Regions from separate parts of the Homo sapiens genome. Here regions 2 and 3 are each linked to region 1. The links are contacts of gene promoters, found by promoter capture Hi-C in blood cells and fetal thymus (Javierre and others, 2016). All regions are on one chromosome and are shown on one strand. Each heading gives the region's core, a stretch centred on a gene start or on the middle of the fragment in contact. The rest is flanking DNA. Distances are from core to core; before and after follow the strand shown.

The links. Contacts are between HindIII fragments. The CHiCAGO score rates a contact against its expected background, and 5 or more counts as called.
Region 2: a fragment that was not itself captured here is called in contact with the fragment with the promoter of ZNF501 in region 1 in 12 of 17 cell types (erythroblasts, total CD4 T cells, non-activated CD4 T cells and 9 more); the score reaches 9.1 in erythroblasts.
Region 3: a contact is called between a fragment that was not itself captured here and the fragment with the promoter of ZNF501 in region 1, in 1 of 17 cell types (erythroblasts). The highest score is 5.3, in erythroblasts.

What each region holds. Positions count from the first base shown.
Region 1 is chr3:44,727,456-44,731,442 of GRCh38, forward strand. It overlaps ZNF501 (zinc finger protein 501), which reads left to right and starts at 2,180. Exons shown (of 3, transcript NM_001258280.2): 1 at 2,180-2,560. It overlaps LOC105377056 (a long non-coding RNA gene), which reads right to left and starts at 2,071. Exons shown (of 3, transcript XR_940788.4): 1 at 1,337-2,071. RefSeq lists an enhancer at 1,991-2,060. The HindIII fragment of the contact is 3,071 bases long and covers 1-3,030 here.
Region 2 is chr3:44,492,747-44,496,733 of GRCh38, forward strand. ZNF852 (zinc finger protein 852) reads right to left here. Exons shown (of 4, transcript NM_001423469.1): 4 at 1-3,987. Among named protein-coding and RNA genes, the nearest start is that of ZNF852, 16 kb to the right of the region's middle. The HindIII fragment of the contact is 5,935 bases long and covers 1-3,987 here.
Region 3 is chr3:44,522,251-44,526,237 of GRCh38, forward strand. It overlaps the pseudogene EI24P3. Among named protein-coding and RNA genes, the nearest start is that of ZNF852, 14 kb to the left of the region's middle. The HindIII fragment of the contact is 5,662 bases long and covers 1-3,987 here.

The DNA of each region.
Region 1 (3,987 bases), core at 930-3,429:
GGTGACAAGTAAGTTGATGATACCTTTTGACCCCTACTTTCTACATAAGGTAGAAACCTAATCTTGACGATATGTGGCATTAGTTTCATTTATCCAGTGGCCACATCAGGGCTAAGGTTATTTTAGTGTTTTGGAACGTTTTTGGTGTCCATCCCTACCATCCGTTTTCCACCTCATTGAAAGAAGCTCAGCCCAAACTGCTATTAAACTCCAGATTACGGTTTCTAGTAACCTCAGGTGCCTCCCTCCAGACTTAATGTCCTCCACACACTACACCCTGCTGATTTGGAGACTCTTTGAAGCCTAATGTTTGGGGAATGAATAATTAGACCTAGGGTCTCTGGCCTGTGAGATGTTAGGGCTGGAGGGAAGAACTTGCTATCTGATTCCAAAGAAGTGCTGAGAATGTGACACCTGGAGAGGGAAACTTAACATTATTGTTACATGGCATGTCAACTGACAATTTTACAAAGGGTCACTTTTTAGCCAAAGATAGCGATGGCCTCAGTCTGTGGCACCAGCATTCCTGATTTGTGTCCAAAAGGGACTCCATTTTGGGAAAACAGCCAATCTGAAGATTGGAATGGATATTTTTTTTTTTTTTTAAGATGGAGTCTGGCTCTGTCACCCAGGCTGGAGTGCAGTGGCATGATCTCGGCTCACTGCAAGTCCGCCTCCCAGGTTCAAGTGATTCTCCTGCCTCACCCTCCTGAGTAGCTGGGATTACAGGGGCACACCACCACGCCCGGCTAATTTTTGTATCTTTAGTAGAGACGGGGTTTCGCCATGTTGGTCAGGCTGGTCTCAAACTCCTGACCTCGTGATCCGCCCCCCATGGCCTCCCAAAGTGCTGGGATTACAGGTGTGAGCCACCATGCCTGGCCTGGAATGGATAATTTCTCTGCTGCATCTCATTAATTTATACAGCAAGTGTTCACTTCTATATGCTGCACACTAGGGATATGATGGTGTGCACACAGCCCTATTGTCCTGAGATTGCAGATCAGTAGGAATGCTTGGAAGTGAATAAGGTACTCTCCACTCATGCCTTTATCTCTGGACTTTACCTGTCAAGATGAGCCCATGTGTGCAAATATTTCCTGAGTTAGAGCCAGCAAGATCTGAAGTTTTGTAGAAAGGGATGGGTGTGCTACCTTGAGGCCCTGAAAGGTCAGTGAAGTCAGGGCAGAACAATAGGTACTGGAGCTGGGATTTGAGACACAGACAATAGTCCTAACATTTACTGAAGATTTAAAAAATACTAGATGTTCTTAGTAATTCACACGTATTAACCTCACTTAATCCTCACAACAACCCTGTGGTACCATTATTATACCTGGTAAGTGAGGAAGCAGGCACAGAGAGGTAAAGTTGCAAAGTTCATACACTGAGAATCAGGGATTTGAGCCCAAAGCAGTGTTTGATTTGTTTTGTTTTGTTTTTGAGACAGAGTCTCACTCTATCACCCAAGCTGGAGTGCAGTGGCTCAGTCTCTGCTCACTGCAACCTCCCCCTCCCAGGTTCAAGTGATTCTCGCGCCTCAGCCTCCGGAGTAGCTGGAATTACAGGCGCCCACCAGCACACCCGGCTGATTTTTGTATTTTTAGTAGAGACAGGGTTTCTCCATGTTGGGCAGGCTGGTCTTGAACTCCTGACCTCAGGTGATCCGCCCGCCTCGGCCTCCCAAAGTGCTGGGATTACAGGAGTGAGCCACCGCGCCTGGCCTGCAGAACTTTTTCTTTTGGCCACCTGAACAAAGATCCTGGGTCAGTAAGGTGTCAGGGGTTTCTGTGAAGAGGTCAGTTTTCTTCCAGATGAGGATGTGTGTGAGGAAGGTGGAAGCCAGTTTTGTGAAAAGCCTTGAGAATCCCCAAAGGACAGTAACATAGGAAGCTAAATGTGGCGGACTTGCAGGATGAACTGATGCACAGTAAGAGCTCCTTGTGGTCGACCCTTCTGACTTCCATCCCGTTTCCCTGTGCTGGAAGACGCACGCCAGGTGGGGTCGCAGGTTGTTTCTGGTGCCGGCTTAACCGGCGCAGCACCGAAACCCGTAGCTGCGTGCGGGAAGGAACCACCGAGCGGAAGCCGCTCCCACCTTCCTAGAGAGGAGACGGTAGTGGTTATTAGCCGAGGCGCGGACTGCTGACGTCACGCCGGCTGGGCGCGTCCGGGACTTACTCCTTTCCGCAGGGCAGCACCCAGGGACCTGAGTGTTGCAAGGTGCGAGAGGGGAGCGCCGCGGGGAGCGCCGCGGGAAGCGCATGGTGAGCGGTTTCTGCTGTGCCCGGCTGCCGCGGGTCGATTCCAGCTCCTCCCTCGGGAAGCAGGGCGTTTTTCTTCCTGGAGGGCCTGTGGAGCGGAGGCCCGAGGCCTAGGGCAAACTTGCCATGAAGAAAGGAGAGGCTGTTCGAGAGCCCTAGGCTGGGAGTCGGAGGACCTGGGTTCGATTTATACATACTTAAGCATGTCAGTGAACTTCTGGGCACTTTAGTTTTCTGATTTCCAGAAGTAAATACTGTTTCCTGCCTTGCCGTTTCCCAAAGTTGTGCGGGTTGAAGTAAGTATATGCAAGAATTAGTGCCTTCCCTTCATTATTTATTCTTCTCTAACAACAACAAAATAGGTACCGTATGAAGACATGTAGACTCAATACTTTAACAGCAGGCACTATTTATTGAATGCTTACCAGCTGGCATTCTTCTAAGTAGTTGCCATGTAGTAACCCACTTATTCATTACGACAACCCTATAAAGTAGTTACTGGTATCGTCTCCATTTAACAGTTGAAAAAACTGGAGCAAAAAAAGGTTAGGTAACTTGTTCAAAAGTCCTAGTCCTGGAGCCCATGCCATACTTGTAAGTTTGCTGGTGGAAGACAGAATGTAATCAGACTAGAAAGTCCTACAGTAGAAACTTGTAAAATTCTTTGAGAATGTAGACGAGGAAGGGCCTTGGAAAAGTCAAAATTTTCCCACAAGGAAGAGGTGTGAAGTTTCACATTTGAGCTAAATATTAAAGGTTGACTGCAAGCTTGAAAATAATTGCTGGCTTATTTGACCAAATGAGGAAATAAAAGAGACGTTTGAAAATAATTAAACAGTTTGTTCAGTGTCAGTTAAGAGATGCTAGTGGATTGGGATGTATTAGACAGGAAACCAGGTTCCTGCCTTTGAATACAGTGTTCTTTGCATTAGGAGGGTTCTTGAAACCTTTCCCTTATGAAGAGTCCTTAACATCTTACAGCAGATACTCCTTACACAAAGGCAATCCTCTTGTTATTTTCGAGAAATTCCCCCAATTCTAATTGTAGGAGGATAACTGACAGGAAGTTTCCCTGCTGTTGATTCAGCCCGTTCTTAACAAGACCCATTCACCTCACGGCTAGCTCATTTAGTACTTTTCAAATAAATGAATAAACAGATTCAATCAAAGATGGACTGGAAGGGCTTGATTTGAGGTTTTTGCTCTTTTCCCATCTGTATATAGAATCAAAGCTTTGTAGAATGTTGATATTACAAGAAGCTTTAAATATTATCTAGCTTTTCAATTTCATTTAACAAATAAGAAATGGATGAGACTGAGTGACCTGTGTTAGGTCATTGAACAAATTGGTGGCAGAGCTGAGACTAGAATCCACACCTCTTGACTGAGTCCATTACTGGTCCTACTGCCCTCTATTGTAGCCCTGCAGCATTTGACTTTTGAAATCAATGGCTTTTCCAGTAGACTTAGGGGAGCCATTGGGCTCCAACCTGATGTCGTATAAAGAAATTTTTACGCCCAGATGCTTAGTCCTAGGAAGGACCTGCCCTCTTTGTACATTGTCACATCTCTCTGAAGTCTGCCAACTCACTAATTTTTGTCACTGGAGATACTCCTCTAGGATAATAACGATATTCTTTCATTTGAACTTAAAATGGTCATTTGGTTAGAGATGGGATGTTCTTGAGTTACCCTGAATCTAGAAGGTGTAGGAAGTAGGCTG
Region 2 (3,987 bases), core at 989-3,488, 230 kb before region 1:
TGTATGGAGTGGTCAACTTGTTTCATAGGCTGGCAATGAGCATGTTATTAATATAGTGGATGACAAGTACTTTTCGAAGTAACTGGACATGTTGCAGGTCAGGGGAATGGAAGTATTGCTATGGACTGAACTGTGCCCCCAAAATTCATATGTTGAAGCCCTGAGCTCTGACATGATTGTATCTGAAGTCCTAAAGCCAGGAATGAGGAAGGCTGTGAATGTCCATTGTTCCATACAAGAATGACTCTTCTCTTGGCTATTTAGAGATCATGAGGGATACTGCCCCAGTTTCCACAGGCCAGATGGTCTCCAACAAAAGCCACGGGGGAGTCACCCCTGCCTGGCAGATCTATCGGGTCAGGACCACCGCCCAGGGGGTCCTGGAGAGGACAGTATAGGACCAAAGAGGATTATTCATGAGCCTAAGATCTCATGAAACGTGCCTTGCTAAGTTTTAGACTTGCATAGGACCATCATCCCCCTGCTCCCCCATCCTTTTTTATTTTTTATTGATAGGGTTTCACTCTGTCATCCAGGCTGGAGTGCAGTACGATCACAACTCACTGTAGCCTCGAACTCCCATGCTCAAGCCACCATGCCCAACTAATTATTTTTATTATTTTTGTAGAAATAAGGTCTCCCTATGTTGCCCAGGCTGGTCTCGAACTCCTGGACTCAAGCAATCCTCCCACCTCAGCCTCCCAAAGTGCTAGGATTAAAGGCATGAGCTATCACACCCAGCCTCATCATCCCTTTCTTCCTTCCAATTTCTCACTTTTGGAATTGGAATACCTAATCCTGCCTATCCCATCACTGTATTTTGGAAGCACATAACTTGTCTGGTTTCATAGGTTCACAGCTGGAGGGGAATTTTGCCTCAGGATAAGCTAAACCTTGGGTCTCACCCATATCTGATTTAGATATTTTTGAGACAAAGTCTCACTGTCGCCCAGGCTGGAGTGCAATGGTGCGATCTCGGCTCACTGCAACCTCTGTCTCTCGGGTTCAAGCGATTCTCCTGCCTCAGCCTCCCCGTGTAGCTGGGATTACAGGTGCACACCATCACGCCCAGCTAATTTTTGTATTTTTAGTAGAGATGGGGTTTCACCATGTTGGTCAGGCTGGTCTCGAACTCCTGACGTAGTGATCCACCCGCCTCGGCCTCCCAAAGTGCTGGGATTACAGGCGTGAGCCACCATGCCCGGCCTTTATTTAGATATTTAGATATTTAGATGAGACTTTGGACTTTAAATGTTAGTTGATACTAGAATGAGTTAAAACTTTGGAGGCTGTTAGGATGGAATGAACTTATTTTGTATGTAAGGATATGAATAGAGTGGCTAGGAGTGGAATGTTATAGAATGAATATTTATGTTGAAGCCCTAACCCCAAATGTTATATTTGGGGGTGGGGGGCCTTTGGAAAATAACTAGGATTGGAGTAGGTCATGAGAATGGGGCTGTCACTCTCACTAACGCCCTTAAAAGACTTGGAAGAGGCACCAGTGCTCTTGCTCTCTGAAATTTGAGGACACAGGAAAAAGGGGGCCATCTGCAAACCAGGAAGAGAGCCCTCACCAGCACTCAACCATTCTGGCATCTTGATGTTGAATTATGAAGACTACAGAACTGTGAGAAATAAATGTCTGTTGTTTAAGCCATCCTCTATGGTATTTTGTTATAATAGCTCAAACTGACTAAAACAGTTGCTAAAGATATATCCCTCCCAATCCCCTCACCCAAAGAACCAGGCCCAGTTACTTTTAGCAAGCCTTCAAGGAACAATTCCCATGTTATACAAACTCTCCATAGCAATAAGATAAACAAAATTTTTTCCAAATTCTTTTGCAAAGCTAGCAAAGCATTACCAAATTGAATCTACTTCTGTACTTAATAAAAATTCACTATGAACAAATAGATTTTACTTGAAAAGTACAAGGAAATTGCAAATATTTGCAAACTTGTCAAGAAAATGAATTACAAAAAGAAAAAACCATAACTCATAAAATTACAATGATGGAGTTTTTAAACTTGATATAATATAGCAACCAATCCTAATAAAAACTTTTTAAGTATAGGCCAGGCATGGTGGCTCACACCTGTATTCCCAGCACTTAGAGAAGCTGAGGCAGGATGATCGCTTGAGGCCAGGACCGCAAGACCAGCCTGAGCAAAATAGTGAAACCCCATGTTTACAAAAAATAAAAATAAAAACTTAGTCGGGCATGGTGGCACATGCCTGTATTCCTAACTATAGGGGAGGTTGAGGCAGGAGCATCTCTTGAGCCCAGGAGTTCAAGGCTGAGGTGACCTATGGTCACATCACTACACTCCAGCCTGAGCAACAGAGGGAGACCTTGTCAAAAAAAAAAACAGAAAACAAAACTGTAAGTATAATAATAATTGGGAAACTGTGCACTGTGTGCCCAGTATTGTTACAATAATGTATTCTTCACAACCCTATGAGGTAGCTCCATTTTATAGATGGAGGAATAAGATACAAGGAAGGTAAGTGATTTGCCCAGGATCACACACCTAACAAAGTGGTGGACTCAGGATTTGAACCTAGGGCACTGGGAACAAAATCTGTGCTCTTAACCACTAAACTACACTGCTTCTTCTAGAAATAAGATTAGAAGGAAACTTCCTAAATCTAACAGAACATCAGAATCCAACAATGAACACGATATGAAACTGCAGAATACTAAAAACATTCCCCCAAGCGTTAAGAGAAAGACATCTACTGTTCCATGTTTTCTGAAGTTCTTGCTAATGCACAACATAAGTGACATCAAAAGACAAATAAATCATTATTTATTCTAAACCTAGAAAAGCTAGGAAATGAATCTAACAAATTATTAAACCTAAAAATAATTTATCAACATAATTGGATCCAGATAAAATTTGTTTAAATCAATAATTAAAGTTTATACTAGCAGTGACCAATAGAAATTGAAGTATGGCTTTCAAATGCAGCCAGTTTTCCTCCATCCAAGAGCCTGAGGCTTTTTCAGGATTCACTTGTACTGAGCACCCACACCAGACTGGTGGCAGTGAGTTAATATAGTTAGGAAATGGTGCACATTCCCACACTCTGGAGGCTTAGTATGGTAGGGGATGAGCAGGCAAGAACCAGAAGGTAAAACTGCAGCTTCCAACAGGCAGGATGGTTCTTCTGCAGACATGACTGGCAATGTCCAACTCAGGGCGGGGAACCAGAAATGTCCAACTCATGTGCTCATATAGTGTGGGGCTCTTCCCTGAAATCTGGGGGCTCCCAAAATAAGACAGTTAAAGAGGAAAAAGTCCTATCTGCATATCTTTTAAAAGAAAATGGAAAAAAATACAAAAAAACAAGCTGAAAACATTTAAAATACATATTCACAAATGGTAAAATTCCAGCCGTGTCATGAGCTCCGGTTTGTTGTTTTGTTGTTGTTATTGAGACAGAGTCTCGCTCTGTTGCCCAGGCTGCAGTACAGTGGTGTGATCTTGGCTCACTGCAATCTCTGCCCTCCAGGTTCAAGTGATTCTCTTGCCTCAGACTCCTGAATAGCTGGGATTACAGGCGTGCACCACCACACCCAGCTAATTTTTGTATTTTTAGTAGAAACGGGGTTTTACAATGTTGGCCAGGCTGGTCTCAAACTCCTGGACTCAGGTGATCTGACCGCCTCAGCCTCCCAAAGTGCTGGGATTACAGGCATGAGCCACTGTGCCCAGACAAGTTTAGAAATTTCAAAAGGCCCTGAAAAACTTTAGGCCCCCAGTAATCCTTTCTAACTTTGTCTGAGACATCTCCCCAACAATCACATTTAATTCTAATTTTCTTGATCCTCAACTCTCTTTCCTTTCTCCTGCATTGTCTGAAACATACACCACAGTGCACAAAATCACCCCTCCAGGTTACATGACTGACATTGCCCCTCTAGCCTCCTCCTCCACCTTTGTCATACTGCGGATCCTGTCAGCCTGTTAAGAAATCTGG
Region 3 (3,987 bases), core at 1,085-3,584, 210 kb before region 1:
CCCAAAGTGCTGGGATTACAGGTGTGAGCCACCGTGCCTGGCCTTGTTTTTCTTTTAAAGAACAAGGAGACCAGGCATGTGGCTCACACCTGTGATCCCAGCACTCTGGGTGGCTGACAACACAAGAGGATTGCTTGAGCCCAGGAGTTTGAGGCCAGCCTGGGCAACAGAGGAAGACCCTCCCTACAAAAAAAAAAAAAAATCAAAAAATTAGCTGGATGTGCTGTAACTCTAGCGACTCAGGAGGATCACTTGAGTCTAGGAGTTGCAGACTGCAGTAAGTTATGATTCCACCACTACTCTCCAGCCTGTGTGACAGAGCAAGACCCTGTCTCTAAAAATAAACAAACAAATAAATGTCAGGCCTCTGAGCCGGAGCTAAGCCATTGTAACCCCTGTGACCTGCACGTATACATCCAGACGGCCTGCAGGAGCCAAGAAGTCTGGAGCAGCCGAGAAACCACAAAAGAAATGAAACAGCCAGTTTCAGCCTTAACTGATTAACCAAACTTACGACATTCCACCATTATGACTTGTTCCTGCCCTACCCTAACTGATCAATCGACCTTATGACATTTTTCTCCAGGACAATGGATCTCATGATCTCCCCACCATGCACGTTGTGACCTCCTCCCCCTGCTGACAACAGATGACCACCTTCAACTGTAACTTTCCACTGCCTACCCAAGTCCTGTAAAGTTGCCCCTCTCCTATCTCCCTTCGCTGACTCTCTTTTTGGACTCAGCCCACTTGCACCCAAGTGAATAAACAGCCTTGTTGCTCACACTAAGCCTGTTTAGGTGGTCTTCTATATGGACATACGTGACAATAAATAAATCACAATGAGTCTTAGGTGATGCAGACCTTCTTGATGGCATCCAGAAGTTTGATCAGACCAAGAGATGCAAACAGCTTTGATTGTCAGGCATTCCACCTCCTGCCTACCTACCTTACTCAGAAAAGCCCCCAGTTATGTTCAAAGGGAAATCTTTGAACATAAGACTTGGTTCTGAGTGTCTCTCACCCACTCTGTTTGGTCAAATTAAATAAACCTTTCTCTGCTCCTAAGTGCTGATGTGTCAGTGTTTGGCTTACTGCACATCAGGTACATGGATCTAAATATCGGGGTTCAATAACACATGTAGGTTATTACAGGAATCCACAAAAGGGACCTTCAAGTTGCATCCTGTGTGTGTTTCTTTGGCCTTTATGACATGGTTCGGAAACACAGTAGTCTTATCTGGAGAGCGTGTTAAAACTCTGATCACTGGACCCCACTTTCACATTTATGATTGAGTAGGTCTATGGAGGGACCTGAGAACTTGCCTTCATCACTGGTTCCCAGGTGACACAGCCATTTGGGGCACCATGCTTGGAGAACCACTCCGGAGACCTCTAAATTGGTAGTTCAACCTTAGCTGCACTTAGAAAACACTGGGAAAATTTGTGTGTGTGTAACCAGCTCACGTTTCATTGTGACATTTTGAAATTGTACAAGTATTTTGACATCTGCCCCCCACATTTAGTCTCTTAAAACGACAGGAAAACATCAACCAATCACAGGTTTAATTAGTTTAAAAAATTTACCCCTTCAATTCCTCTTTGTAGCCCCCAGCACCCAATATTCCTTTGAAATATGAAACAGACCCAGCAGTGGCCAACAGTAAATTTCTACCCTGCACCCCACAACAGAGATGAAAAGTTCAAGCTCTCTGAGCATTGTGTTGCAGTGGCACTTGTCCAGAATTGGTACCTCTGCCTAGTTGGGGGAGTTTAAATGTACCAGTGAAAATAGCTTTTTCTCCTTCAAAGGGAAGAAAGAAAATCTCTCCCCAAAACCCAGAAGGTCTGAAGATCTGGCTGTGAGGTCTTTCTCTTTCTTCCTGTCCCATCTCTTCAGACCTTTTTTTTTTTTTTTTTTTTTTTTGGCAGTGGAGCAAGAGAGACCAAAACCTAACTTGAGTTACAAGAAACAAGACAGTGATGGCTATAAAGGGAGTGACCAGGAGCAACTGAGACACTCCTTTACCTCCCACATCCAATGTTTGTGCTTCACAGAAAAACGACAAAAATAACAAATCCACAAAATGCAACAGCTGGAATTACAAATTTCATTCACCCAAGGGTGGTAGAAGGCAGGAAGGAAAGGTGGGAAGGTAAATGGCACAGGGAGAAAAACAAAATATTCAAATCAATCCAGCCATAGGGACTGGCAAATGCTAGAAAAATCGCTGTAAAAAAAAAAAAACTAAAACTAAAAAAACTGTGGTCCTTTCAGACTCTCAGTGGTGTTAAAAATCCACACGCTGGTGTCAGGAAGATTCTACCTTACGTGCACCAGAGATAAAGATTCCAATTCCTCAGAGAGGGAATATGCAGAGGGCCTTTGGCAGGATGAATCGTGCCTTTCCTGGCAGGGGGAGGTAAAATGGGAAAAGAGCTGCCACAGCCTCCTTCCAATCCCACCCATCCCCTCGATGGCAGGTGACTCAGGCCTTCAGTAGCCTTCAATCTGGGTAGAGACATATGTGGTGAAGGGAACTTCTCTGCAGAGGCTGAGCTGCTCAAGGCAGACTGCAGGTGAGAGTGTCTTGTGGAAGAGTCTGTTGCTTAAGAAGACCACGAAGGAGGAGAGGTGCAACTCAAAGAGGTATGCTTGGCCGGGGATCTTTGCCTCATTGCACTGATAATGAATAAAGGAAAGAGGATAGAGAAAAGGCAGCCATGGAAAATATATGAGGACTGCATTGCTGTGAGAAAAGCCAAAAAAACCAAACCCAAAGTAGTAAAGCCAGTTCCTCTCTGTGTTAGAGGAACCGCTGGTGCATTTCAATTCCTTTACTGAACCAACCATATTTGAAGCAGTAGAATGAGTCAAGAAGAGACAAACGCCGGAGAGTAACCAGCTGACCAACAAGGTGGGTGGGAAAGAGACTCACAGACATTCCTTGAATGGGGAAAAGAGCCTGCAGCAAAAGATTGGAGAGCATGTCAGCAGTTATTTTGTGGACACTAGGGAATGGGTGAGGCTTCCTCCCTGATGCTTCAAATGCCAGGTCAGCTGTATCTTGGAACCACATGGCATTCACAACTTTGCTAGGCATGTACAAGGGGAGCACCCAAAGGCCTGGAAATTTATACGAGGAAAAATTCCAGCCATGACCAAGCATCTCCACACAGTGATGGATCATAAGTAATTCACGCTGTTACTCACTGAAGCCCAGGAATAAACACCCGATAAAGCAAGAGTAGACTGAACCAGAGCAGTCCACCCCTCCAAGCGCAACACTGGAAAATTCTACTAACACTTGCTGGCTCACTCTCTTGCTCCCACTCTATACTCTGGGGTATTCTCTGTGCCAGGACAATGCTTGCCCTTCTTCCACGCTGCTCCCCTCTTTTGATGGATTGGAGTGTCTAGCTGGAGATGGTACAAATATCCCAGATGAAGTCTTTGACTCCCCTGGAAAGGTCCTGGAGAAAGGTTTTGACACTGTCAGCCATGTCGTCAGTACCCAAACTATCAACTACGCAGAGGAGATATAAGTGCCCCCAATCTCTCATCATGAAGGACCCTGCAGCTCTGCCACCACGGCTCCAGCCTGGCCCCTCACCCACCACCACGGGCCCAGTTGGCTCCTCTGTGCCAGGCAGCCTGCTCCACCGGGGTGCTCCCAGGGTTGGGATGCTATGCCCACATTGGCCATGCCTGGGCTGCAGAGACAGGGAGATTTTTTTAAATGCAATTCTCTACCTTATTTCAAACCGATTAAATCAGAATCTTGTAGGTGGTGCTCAGGCATTGGATTTTTGCAAAGCTCCCAAGTGGTGCTTCCATGCATTAAAGTTGAGAAGCACTGCTCTAAATTTGTTTTGGCCCCGTGGAAAGGTTTCCAACTGATTTCTTATGAAAAAGGTAGTAGAAACCTCCTCTTCAGTTTGTACCAATAAGGTTATAAGGTTGGCCTCTGCCTGACTGGAGAGTGG